2 separate regions of the Homo sapiens genome follow, and region 2 is linked to region 1. Evidence: promoter capture Hi-C in 16 types of primary human blood cells and fetal thymus (Javierre and others, 2016). All regions are on one chromosome and are shown on one strand. Each heading gives the region's core, a stretch centred on a gene start or on the middle of the fragment in contact. The rest is flanking DNA. Distances are from core to core; before and after follow the strand shown.

Region 1 (5,956 bases), core at 1,828-4,327:
ACTTTGTTGCTAGTGTTTGCTGAATAAATAAATAAGAAACCATCTATTTTCATGACATCTGCATCATCACAAGTTGATAATTGCTCTATATGGTAATTTTGACTCCATACATTGCATACCATAATTGTAGTCATTACTTAGAGAATCTCTCAGTCTCTCTCTCTCTCTCTCTCAACTCAAAGGTGAAATGTATTAAATACAGTAATCAAGTGAGTATATGTTATTTAAGAATGAGGTTGGTGATTTTCCAGGTGTTTATTTCTAGACTTTTTGCCAGGTAAGCTGGCCATTTCATTCCCAAAAGGATTATTCAAATATATAAAATAGTATTTTCAAACACTATTATATATTCCAGAAAAACAAGCATTTGAATAACAAAAACAATAGAACTTAGCAAACATGGTGAAACTCCCATCTCTATTAAAAATACAAAAATTAGCCCGGCATGGTGGTACGTGCCTGTAATCCTAGCTACTCGGGAAGCTGAGGCAGGAGGATCGCTTGAACCCAGGAGGTGGAGGTTGCAGTGAGCTGAGATCACACCACTGCACACCAGCCTGGGCAACAGAGTGAGACTCTGTCTCAAAAAAGAAAACAAAACAAAACAAAAAAATAGAACTTTAAGGTGAGAAATGGGAAAGCAGTCCTGAATTGGTAGAAACCCTAGGCATATGGACAAATTGTTTATTTATTATTTGTTTGTTTATTTAAGAGTGATAATTTGCCAACATATTATTTTGCTAAATATTTTTAAAAGGATTATTGCAGCTGTAGAAAATATATAGAAAGCCATCTTAGGAAACTCTACCTCTTGCTTGCTGATATATAAATTGTAGTCAGCTTTTTCTTCTTTTTGTCACAACCTTTGGAGATTCCGGTAAAATGCCTCCTTCAGAATATTTCTGGGCATCCGTTATTTGTTTATTTATTTATTTTTTTTTTGGTTACATGAGTAAGTTCTCCAGTGGCAATTTCTGAGATTTTGGTGCACCCATCACCCAAGCAGTGTACCCTGTACCCAATGTGTAGTCTTTTATCTCTTGTCCCCGTCCTATCCTTCCCCCCAAGTTCCCAAAGTCCATTTTATCATTCTTACACCTTTGCATCCCCATAGCTTAGCTCCTACTTATGAGTGAGAATGTACAATGTTTGGTTTTCCATTCCTTAGTTACTTCAGTTAGAATAATGGTCTCCAGTTCCATCCAAGTTGCTACTAATGCCATTATTTCATTCCTTTTTATGGCTGAATGTTATTCCATTATATATATGTGTATATATACACATATATACCACAATTTCTCTATCCACTCATCGATTGATGGGCATTTGGGCTGGTTCCATAGTTTTGCAACTGCAAATTGTGCTGCTATTAACATGTGTGTGCAAGTATCTTTTTTGTATAATGACTTTTCTTCCTCTGGGTAGATACCCAGGTAGTGGGACTGCTGGATGAAATGGTAGATCCACTTTTAGTTCTTTAAGGAATCTCCACACTGTTTTCCATAGTGGTTTTACTAGTTTACATTCCCACCAGCAGCGTAAAAGTGTTCTCTTTTCCCCACATCCACACCAACATCTAATTTTTTAAATTTTTTGATTATGGCCAGTTTTGCTGGAGTAAGGTGGTATTACATTGTGGTTTTGATTTGCATTTCCCTTATAATTAGTGATATCTAGCCTTTTTTCATATGTTTGTTCACCATTTTTATATCTTCTTTTGAGAATTGTCTATTCATGTCCTTAGCCCATTTGTTGATGGGATTGCTTGTTTTTTTCTTGCTGGCTTGTTTGAGTTCCTTGTAGATTCTGAATATTAGTCCTTTGTTGGATATATAGATTGCAAAGATTTTTCCCACTCTGTGGGCTGTTTACTCTGCTGATTATTTCTTTTGCTGTGTAGAAGCTTTTTAGTTTAATCAAGCATTGTTTGGGCAAATTGTTACAAATCATTCCTGCAGGACTCCATTCAGCCTAGATAACCATACTTTTGGCCCAGTTCTCACAGAATTTCTACAGAAACCCTACCTCCTCAAAGTAATAAAAAGTTTGCATTACAATCGGACTAATATCAAAGAAAATAAAAATAACAATTGGGCTAATTATAATGATTACCTACATAGCTTTCTCCATTAACTAACTCACAACAGCTCTGTTAAGTAGTCAGGACAAATATTACCACCCCCGGTTCACAGCTGGAATAATAGTACTTGCATAATAATAATTCTTGAGGGATTCTTAAATGCTGGCACTGTGTTAATTTCTTTATATTCATCGAATATCCCCAATAACCCTACAGGTAGATACTATTATTTTCCCCATTTTCAGGCCAGGTAATTAATGAAGCTTAAAAATGTAAGTACCCTGCCCCCAGGAGTGCATAATTATTAAGTAGCAGAACCAATGCTTATATTTAAATCAGAAACACTCAGAAGTAGCATAAGAATTTAGTAAAAACGAAACACACCCTCGTGCAATCCGTATTATGTGGCCACGTGCCTACCAGGGTCAGCTGGATGGTACTTGTCTGCTAGAAGTGAGTCGAGGCAGAAGAATCAACACAGGAGCTGGAAGGGCCTCTGGAAATCAGCTGGGGACTAGAGACAGGTGTGCAGCCCTCGGTTTACAGAGGCTGTGAGACCAAGAGAGTTCCAAGACCTCCAGGAAAACATCTCCCTGCTAAAAGGCTTTCCCAACCTTTAGAAATCTATTCATTTTCCCCACTTTCCATCCTCTTTCTCTTGCTATCTCTTTATCGCTCCTCCTGCCTTCTTCCTTTCTTTCCTTCAGTAAACGTTTTTTGAAACGATGATGAGCAAAAAACGCCTGATCCAGTCTATGGCGCGTTTCGGTGGGAAGATGAACACGCCTTCCCAGCAGAGTAAAACGTGATTACACCAAGGACCGGTACCCTCTCCCTTCCCTCGGCCAGGTCCACGTCCCCAGGCGTCGGAGAAGGGGTTGGACCGCGCAGCGGGGCGTCAGAGTTGCCAGGCGCCCGGGGCAAATACCGGCAGCGGTGGTTGTGCGGTGTCCTAGCAACGGGGCGGCAGCAGGGCACACACACCGCCCAAGCCCGGACGGTGGCCGCGAAGCTAGGGCCACCATGGCGGACCGCAGGCGGCGGCTCCGGCCGGGGACGTTGGCCCCGGTGCGCGAGGGCGTGAACTGCAGGTCCAGGTAAACACTCAGCGCCCGGGCCGAGGGCGCATCCCACGCGGGCCGCGCGGGGGCGCCTGGAGACCCGCGCTTGCTGGGGCGGGGGCGAGGGGAGAGGTCCAGCCTGCCTTCCCTCCTCAATGCTTCCTGTACGTACAACATAATACGCTGAGATAACCAACGCTTGGCGCTGCTCTTTGCAAAGGATTTTTCCTGCTGTCATCCTCACAACCCCCGCCTCCCACGCCCCCAGGGATGTAGACTAATATCCCCATTTCTGATGGGAAAGTGATGGCCGCAGAGTCCGCTGCGGAGGCTGGTGCCCTCCTGCTAGCCACCCACCCTTTTCCGGCCTAGCCAACCAACTGTTCGCCAGATGCCCCGGGGCGCCTGGAGCCCTGTATCCGATGTTAGGCATCTGCTGCCCCTGGAGCCTTTGGTATCCAGATGGCGGCTGTGGCCAAGTGGAGCCCAGGGTTGGGGGAGCGCCTGGGGTGCTAGGGAGGTCTGCTAACATTTTGTACGGTTGTGGTAGCCTCAGAGCAGGAACAAGAAGGTTTTTGCCTTTACCGACTCCTTGACAATCTTTTGAGAATGGAATTCGTCTGTCTTGGAGACAGCACGATGTGGTGGTGAAGATTCCAAAGTCTAGAATCAGAAAGGCTTGAGTAGAAGGCTAGTTCTCCTCTTGTTTGCCTGGTGACCTTAGGCAAGTTGGTTGCTCCTTCTGGGCTCACTTTCCTAACTATAAAATGGGGCAATAACTTAGGAATCAGCTTTCTAAGATTGTCGTGAGGATTAATGGAGATAGCACATGTAAAGTTGTCACTGGCACATAGAACGTATCGTGTACATGTTAGCAATTATTCATAGTTGTTTCTAGCAGTTATTCATAAGAGCTTCTTTGGGAAGCTTCTCCCCCCCATTTAAAAATTTTGTTTTGAAATAACTGTAGGCTCACCAGAAGTTGCAGAAATAGTACAGAGGTCCCATGTACCCTTCCCCTAGCTGCTTACAGTGGTACCATTTTACATAACGATAGCACATTGCCAAACCAGGAAACGTCATTGGCAGAATATGCTAATTGAACTAGAGACCTTACTTGGATTTTATCAGCTCTTACTTGCACTCAGGTGTGTGAGTTCTGTAACATTTGGTCATATGTATACATAAAGATACAAAACTGTTCCTTCCCCACAGAGGAACTCTTAGTATTACCCCTTTGCTGTCACTTCTTTTCCCACCCCAGCCTTGTCAATCGCTAAGCTGCTCTCCATTTCTGTAAGTTAGTTCTTTTGAGAATGTTAGATAAACAGAATAATACAGTATGTAACTGTTTGAGACTGGCTCTTTTTCACTCATCATAAAGCCTCTGAGATCCATCCAAGTTGTGTGTATCAGTAGTTCATTTTTGTTGCTGAGTCGTGTTCCTTGGTGTGGATGTACCACAGTTTGTTTATCCATTCACTTGTTGAAGGACATTCAGGTTGTTTTGGACATTCCAGTTTTGGGGCTAATATGTAGAAAGCTGCTATCGACATTTGTGTACAGAATTTTCTGAGAACATACTTTTTCATTTCTTTAGGATACATGTCCGGTATCCTTTTGCAATTCTTAAAGAGGGAAATATCCATATATCATGTACTAGTGTCTGTGAAAACAGTAAATATTTAGAAAAATTGTTTCCAGTTTTATTTTATGGGCCAAGCAAGATTTTTCCTGAACCTAACATAATGCAGAATGGTAAGCTTATTAACTATGAGAGGCCATGTGGGGGAGAGGAAAGCCCTCCCTTTACACTGGTTGCCTTACTCTCCTCTTGGAACTTAGTTTCCTTATTAAAAAGAGGAAAGCGGTAGCCAGGCATGGTGGCACATGCCTGTAGTCCCAGCTACTCAAGAGGCTGAGGTGGAGGGATTACTTGAGTCTGAGAGGCAGAGGTTGCAGTGAGCCAAGATTACACCATTGCACTCCAGCCTGGGTAACAGAGTGGAACCCTGTCTCGAATTAAAAAAAAAAAAGAAAGGAAAGAAATGAGGAAAGTGGCTCGCGCCTGTAATCCCAACACTTTGGGAAGCGGAGGCAGGAGGATCACTTGAACCCGAAGTTTGAGACCAGCCTGGGCAACATAGCAAGACCCTGTCTCCTCTCTCTACAAAAGCAATTTAAAAATTTAGCTAGGCATGGTGCCGCACACCTGTAGTCCCAACTACTTGGGGGACTGAGATTGGAGGATCCCTTGAGCCCAGGAGTTTGAGGCTGCAGTGAGCTATTGAGCTATAATTGCCACTGTACCCTAGCTTGAGCAACAGAGTGAGACCCTGTCTTGAAAAAAAAAAAAAAAACAGAAAAAGAAAAGTGAAGAAAGTAGACTGGATTTCTTTTAGGATCTCTGCCAGTTCTAACATTCTATGAAGTTTCAGCTCACTGCCACGTACATTCCCCATTTTGAGTTGTATGGCTGTACTTAAACAAAAATATTTGTTCTCAGATTTGATTTCATGAAGTGCTTGGATGCATGAGTTAGTTGTAAATGTGCATATAATGAACTTTGTAAAGACATTTAATATGGAGGGTTACTTACTAATAAGTAATGCTGAATGGGTCATTAATCTTATGATTAGATGTAATTTCAGCATCTTTCTGCCATTTAGCTATTTAAGAGTGATCTGTTAAATGCAGAGAGTAACTTTTTGTTAAGTTCATCTTTTTGTGTCCTTTCATCTAGATCTTCACAGTAGAGTTGGGTTAAGCCCTTAAAACAACACCTACACATCTATGCAACAAGTAAGAAGTTTCT
Region 2 (5,956 bases), core at 1,026-3,525, 950 kb after region 1:
CTTAATTCTTACTGCTTTGCTTTAAGGTTGTTGGGTAGTGAGCTGATTTCCTCTTAATGTCGCAGGCATTTAAGACCATATACATACTGATTCATGAATGTATAGGACCATGGTGACTATGAACAGACCAGTCATGACTCAACTTGCAAAATACCTATGAATGTGGACAAGGAATAGTATGTACAAGAGTCACCCAGACTTGACTTCATGCCATTGTTCTGAATGCTCTCATATTGGTTCACTTATAGGAGTAACTACCTCAGGGTTTTATTTTATAGAGAAAAACTGAGGCTCAGTGTCACCCTCACAATCTCTCAAACCTAGGAAATTGTTCACTTTAGGTTGTTTTGAAGTCTTTCCATATACTACTCCTCTTACAGTGACTTGCTATAGCTTGCCTTGAGAACAAACGTCTCACTTTAATGCTTTATGGTTAAGGGTCAGGTATAACTCGGATCAATAAGCTAAACCTCTAAAATCAAATAGTCGGGTGGATGTCATTCTTACCTTGCTCAACAGGAAGCTAGATGTCTTAAGACCACTCATGCTACAGGAAATGATTGTTTCCCTGTGCTTACCTGGCTCTTGAGTACACTGACTCAAATGTCAACGTGGTGGGTAACATGGGGCTTCTATGAAAAGCTTTTGGTGTGGCAGGGTGTAATGGGTTAAATGTCCTGAGCTTAGTCATGTACTTGATTGTCTATGACTAAATGACCAAATAGACATAAAAAGGGTGGAGTAAATCTGTCATAATTTACAGCATATCTTGCTGTTCTTTTTTTCTCCCTTTTCTCTTGGCCTGTGGCTTAACTGCACCTAACATCTCTCGGGAGTGCCTTAATAAAACCAGTTAAGGACTGCTTGTTTTATACAAGCAATGTATTCATATACCTTCCTGTTAACAGTAAAAATCTAGACTAGCGTAACAATACTTGTCTGATTAGTGAGGCAATTAGTATGTCACCTGACAAACCAGAACTGATAGAAATCTTATTTGGAGGTGTTACCATAATCAGTTTCTATTTAACCTGACATACCTGAGAAAGCATTTATGGGCCGGATCTGCCAGGAATATGACATCTCAACTACTCTGTCCTTGGTGGTTATCACCTATATGATAATCTGAAGCTAAACCTGCACAAGGTCTTCCTTATACAAAGTGTATTGGGACCTGAACCCCAGGTTTGGGTCCACAGCCAGATAACTAGTTCTGCAAGAAGAGGTGTTAGTATGGTTGTGAAAACACCTTCCCCATCCCCTGACTCACCTTCCTGTCAACTGCTTCCTACTGGAATTCCTCATGAATAGGTGGTTAACACCTTGTACTTTGTCCTAAACAACCCAGTTTTGTCTCACTCACCCCGTCTTCCTCTCCAGCTTGTTCAAGTCTCTTGTTCAAGTCATTCCACTTCAGGCCTGTTAAGACTACTTCTCTTGACACAAATCTCCAACCCACAGACTTTCTCATTCCAGCTGTTGCCTTTATTGACTTTATTTCCTTGTTATAGTATCTTTCATTTATTTAACCCCATGGCTTTTTTTCTGGTAAATCTCAACCCTTCGTGAATCCCAAATGTCTTAGTCCTAATACTAGAAAGATAAGGCTTGGCTGAGTTAGACTATGGTAGAACCATGTCTCTAAACTTATCACTGACTTCTGATGTATCTTTCCAACTCCCAAATTTCGCAGAGGGGAGAGAAGCTAGAAAAACAGGGTTGTTGGGCAATCTTGGTAAACTTGGGCCCTTCTAAACATGTAGCTTTTGTTTTATTCTTGTAACAAGTTTTTCCTTGCTTTCAGGTTATAAACGAGTGAGTAAAACATGAGATAATGTCCAGAACTCAGTGTAGCAGGAGTTGATTGATTTGCTCTGGTCTCATATGCTCACCAATTCCTCCACATTAAACCCACCAAATTAAGTAGCTGCCCTACTCTAAAATGGTTCCACCTACTGACTCCTTGTTCCTTTCTGAAATAGTCCTGGTGTCTCTGATTGCTAGAGGCTAAGTCCTGTGACTGTGTCCCTAGCAGCAGCAGGGACTCTGGGAGAGAGCCCTTGGGATAATGGGTCTCGATGGGAGAAACCCCTCAAACTGGGGTCATGAGGCCTTCCAATGTGACAAAGTTCCACAACTATGCTGAACTGGTCCTAAGAAAAGCTTACATGACTGCATGTCTAACCAGCATAGCAGATAGCCATGGCTCACCTGTGCTCTTGAAGACAGTATGAAATTGAGACCAAGTAGCTTACTCTACTCGACTCTGAGTAAATGTTTCAACGGTGTCTATGCTGCTGTGGTAAAGCATTCACTCCAAACGGGGAGCATCCTTACGTCCAGCTCACTTTTCAAGAGTTAGCAAAGTCATGGCTTTGCAACTCAGTCAAGCTTTTATGGTTACTAAGCGCCCCCTGTTGATGGCAGTTTAAAACTGGTTGTGCCCCATGCTTCAAAGTGGCAAGACCCCGTGTGTCTAATTCCTGAAACAGTCCAAGGCTCCAAACATGAGGGCAGGCCCCGTTAGGTCCTCTCTGGCAGCTTTTGCTTCACCCTTGCTTCATTGTTTGGGCCTCTTGCCTCTTCTCCTAAGATGGCTTCTAGGGTTGGCATTATCAACACAATCCCTCCATTCCTTCCACACAAGGCTAATTGCTTTGTTCTCATTTGCTCAAGGTATATGAGAATAAACATAGCTGCAAATCTTGAGCTGGTTTTGAGAAACCTGTTTCCCTAAACACCTTCTTGTGCTTGGATGGAAGGCTTAGGACCTTAGCCTAGTGCCTAGAAATGGCTGATCTTCTAGTGAGTTAATAGGTCTCAACTACAGTTAAAGTTAAAATGACCCCGACTAGCTTTTGAGACTACCTAAAGGACCCATTTGGTTCTGATCTGCCATGGACCAATACTTTGTAAAACACAATAAATAGAAAATGCCAAATTTTGTTAAACCCACACCCTAGCAAACAAAGGGGAAGAAATACATGGTTCGTTGGAAGAACATACAGGTGACAGGTGACGACTACAAATGTACAATGATAGTTATCTAGAGGTAACTGAGGTACATGTTAATGTTCTTGTACAGAATGACTATTGTGCATATAGTGCTTAATGTACTGAGTTCTTCATGTGACAAATAAGCTTGTTTAACCTACTGAATCTAGGTTGGAGTGATAGCAATGCTACTCAGAGGAAAACAACCAAAAGGCTTTGTTTTAATAGCTTTCACAGCAGAGGCCAATCTCACATCCCTCAGAAGTATGTTGACCAGAACAGAAGAATTTAAAGCTATTGTAGCAGAATTGGGGTATATTTAACTTTTAAAATGAAGTAATGCTTTATTTTAAACTCATCTCTAATCCTTCATCACCATCTAGTTACAATGGCTTATCTTAGAAGGCTACAGTTATCTTCCTGAAAAGCAAATGGATTCCAGATGTGAATTTTTCCTATACATAAATCTTTTGATGGAAAGCAAAATCCAATGTTCTAATTCAAAAGGTATGTCTTGTAGATGTGCAATATCAACTACTGATTTATACCATGTGAAGTTATGTAACTTCTATTTTTGAAACACTTAAGTTATCTAGTCTCTGCTTTTCTCTATCTCTTCAATATTACCCAAGGGAAAAGAACCTGGATGGGTTAATGAGACTAGGAACAACTCATGGCACATATGTAGTTAACCCTTCTAGAGAGAACTGCCCTCATGAGTTTTATGGTACTTGTTTTACTTCATGAATGTATATGGAAGGATTGCTCACTGAGTGGGCTTACGTTACTCAATGGTAGAAGACTTGCTCAGCCTAGTTCGGGGGCCCACTTCCAGCTTTGGTCCTCTGATTCAGTGAAACAAAGCTTGTCTGATCTTGATTTCAGGTGTAGTTCCCAATTACTTTCAGAACCCCATGGGGAAAGTGAGGTGAATGGTACCTCAGACACTTAAGCCCTGAATTTCTATGGCAGTCTTGCTGTGGCACACTACCTGCATATTGCTGATGGCCTCATATCCAGGGCTCCACACTGGCATGTAAAAGGTACAGGCCAGTCTGAGGGTCTTCAAAGGCTTTCTAGGTTCCCTGAAAGTGTGGCATTAGGAGCAACAGGATCAGACTCCCCCCGCCCCCAGCCGCCCCCTCCTCCCCTACCCCGCCACGGAGAGGAGTACCACTATCAGGGCAAGACAAACGTGGAACTCGGCCAGGTCCTGCTCCGTATGGAAGTGAGTGTCTTGGGCAGTGGGGTCTCAGAAGCTGTTTGATAGAATCTCTAGGTAAGCCTCTCCTCCCACACATGCTAGTTTGGCACACAATGGTCCTGACTTCCTGAGACAGATGAGTGTCTATAATTTTGGTCTAATGAGAAGGTCCTGGGACATTAAGCATCTTCAGGTTTCACAGTGAGAATTGCAGATGGTGTTCACAGCTTTCCCATACAATACTGAAGTCATTTGTCTAGATGTACTGAGTCCAAACTAGGGATTGCTTGAAGGAAAGACTTTCTCTAAGGTCTTCATTTCGTTTGGTGGGAATGTCAGATTGGGTGGGTTACACTAAGGGAAGAAATGAACTGCTTCTAGCAATACCTCTGTGGTGAAGTCTGGGGAGGAGAAATTAGAGTGGCAAGATAACAGATAGTTGGAAGTCTCTCACTGCTTTCCCGGAAGAAGTAGCAAACATTTTGAGGGGTGAGAGGAACTTCCCAGCACAGGGTTAGAGGAGCTCTTAAACACAGGTAAATTTCAGGAAGCTTTGTGAATTTGACTATGGGGCTGTGGCTGGATTCTTGCTCAGCTCCAATCTTAAATAGAAGGCAACCCTTTACCAGTAGGATCTAGGGAATTTTGGCCAACTTTGTCAATTCTGACCCTGAGCATAATTTTGGGGGGGGTTTCCAAGGTATATGGATGAGTCTGCCTTGGATTAGATTCTGCATCTCGGCCTGTGGTTAGGGGAGTGCTGAATGTAGGCCTGGGGAATGCATTTAAAGGCAATCAATACTAGCAGGGGTAGGAAGAACAACTTCTATGGTGTCAGTTTGGATCCTTTGTAGTTAAGTGCAAGAGACTCAGTGGGGGTAATACTTGGGGTGGGGGGTGGAAGGGAGTTGGAATAGGAGCAGCAAGGGAGAATCTTCAGGTCTTACAGGTGTAACACCTGTGCAAGGAACCAGGGAAGGGAAGAACAGGTAGAGCCCCTGCCCTGCAATATGGGTCTGCAATAGTCTCAGCCAGGTCAAGTAAGTTCAGTACCTTTTCCAAGATGGACCCTTCCTGGTGGGTGTTAATGTGAGACACACAGCTCCACACTTCATACATAGCCTTACTATGTCCATCCACATTCCTCTACCCAAATCTTGTCTCTGACCGTTCAGTCCTTTGTTCCAGGCTGCTGACTGGAAAGTGATGCCATTGAACCACCTATGTATATGTGCATTCTCATCTTGGGCCCTTTGTGATACAAAGTAGCTGACCAGGTATACTGCTTGTGGAACCCGACCCGTTGGGAACCAGGCCAGACACTTGGTTGAACTTGTAGTGCTTTAATTATCCTCTAGTATCTAATTTCGTCATGGGCTAGAATGCAGAATTGAACAGATAAGGACCACCAACCATATTTGCTTGATACTTAAGCATGGCACTAATGTTGACCATCCCCTACAGGGGTGCAATACTTGTGACTTAATATCTTGGCTGGGGTAGGGACAGTTTCAGAAGTTTCTAACTGGCCCTGCTGTGATGCTGTTACTTCACATGGCTAGGGACCCAACGTAGGGATTTATTCAAATGACAAGCACATCAATTTCAATTGTGTACTCAGGGGAAATATTTCTGGGTGGGTCTTCGGACCTAGTGGACCAACTGTCAGCCAAACATCTGCAAGAACTCCATTTCCTCAGTCTGTACTAGGGTATAATTTAAAGCTGCAATCTATTTCTCAAATGGAAGATAGTTGTA

Evidence for each region. The method cuts DNA at HindIII sites, captures the fragments that hold promoters and counts their contacts. A CHiCAGO score of 5 or more calls a contact.
Region 2: a contact is called between a fragment that was not itself captured here and the fragment with the promoter of FAM47E in region 1, in 1 of 17 cell types (total CD4 T cells). The highest score is 5.6, in total CD4 T cells.

What each region holds. Positions count from the first base shown.
Region 1 is chr4:76,248,644-76,254,599 of GRCh38, forward strand. FAM47E (family with sequence similarity 47 member E) reads left to right here and starts at 3,078. Exons shown (of 8, transcript NM_001136570.3): 1 at 3,078-3,177. The coding sequence starts at 3,104. It overlaps FAM47E-STBD1 (FAM47E-STBD1 readthrough), which reads left to right and starts at 3,078. Exons shown (of 7, transcript NM_001242939.2): 1 at 3,078-3,177. The coding sequence starts at 3,104. LOC105377286 (a long non-coding RNA gene) reads right to left here and starts at 3,034. Exons shown (of 3, transcript XR_938897.4): 1 at 2,465-3,034. The HindIII fragment of the contact is 1,725 bases long and covers 2,342-4,066 here.
Region 2 is chr4:77,201,382-77,207,337 of GRCh38, forward strand. No RefSeq gene overlaps it. Among named protein-coding and RNA genes, the nearest start is that of CCNG2, 47 kb to the left of the region's middle. The HindIII fragment of the contact is 228 bases long and covers 2,162-2,389 here.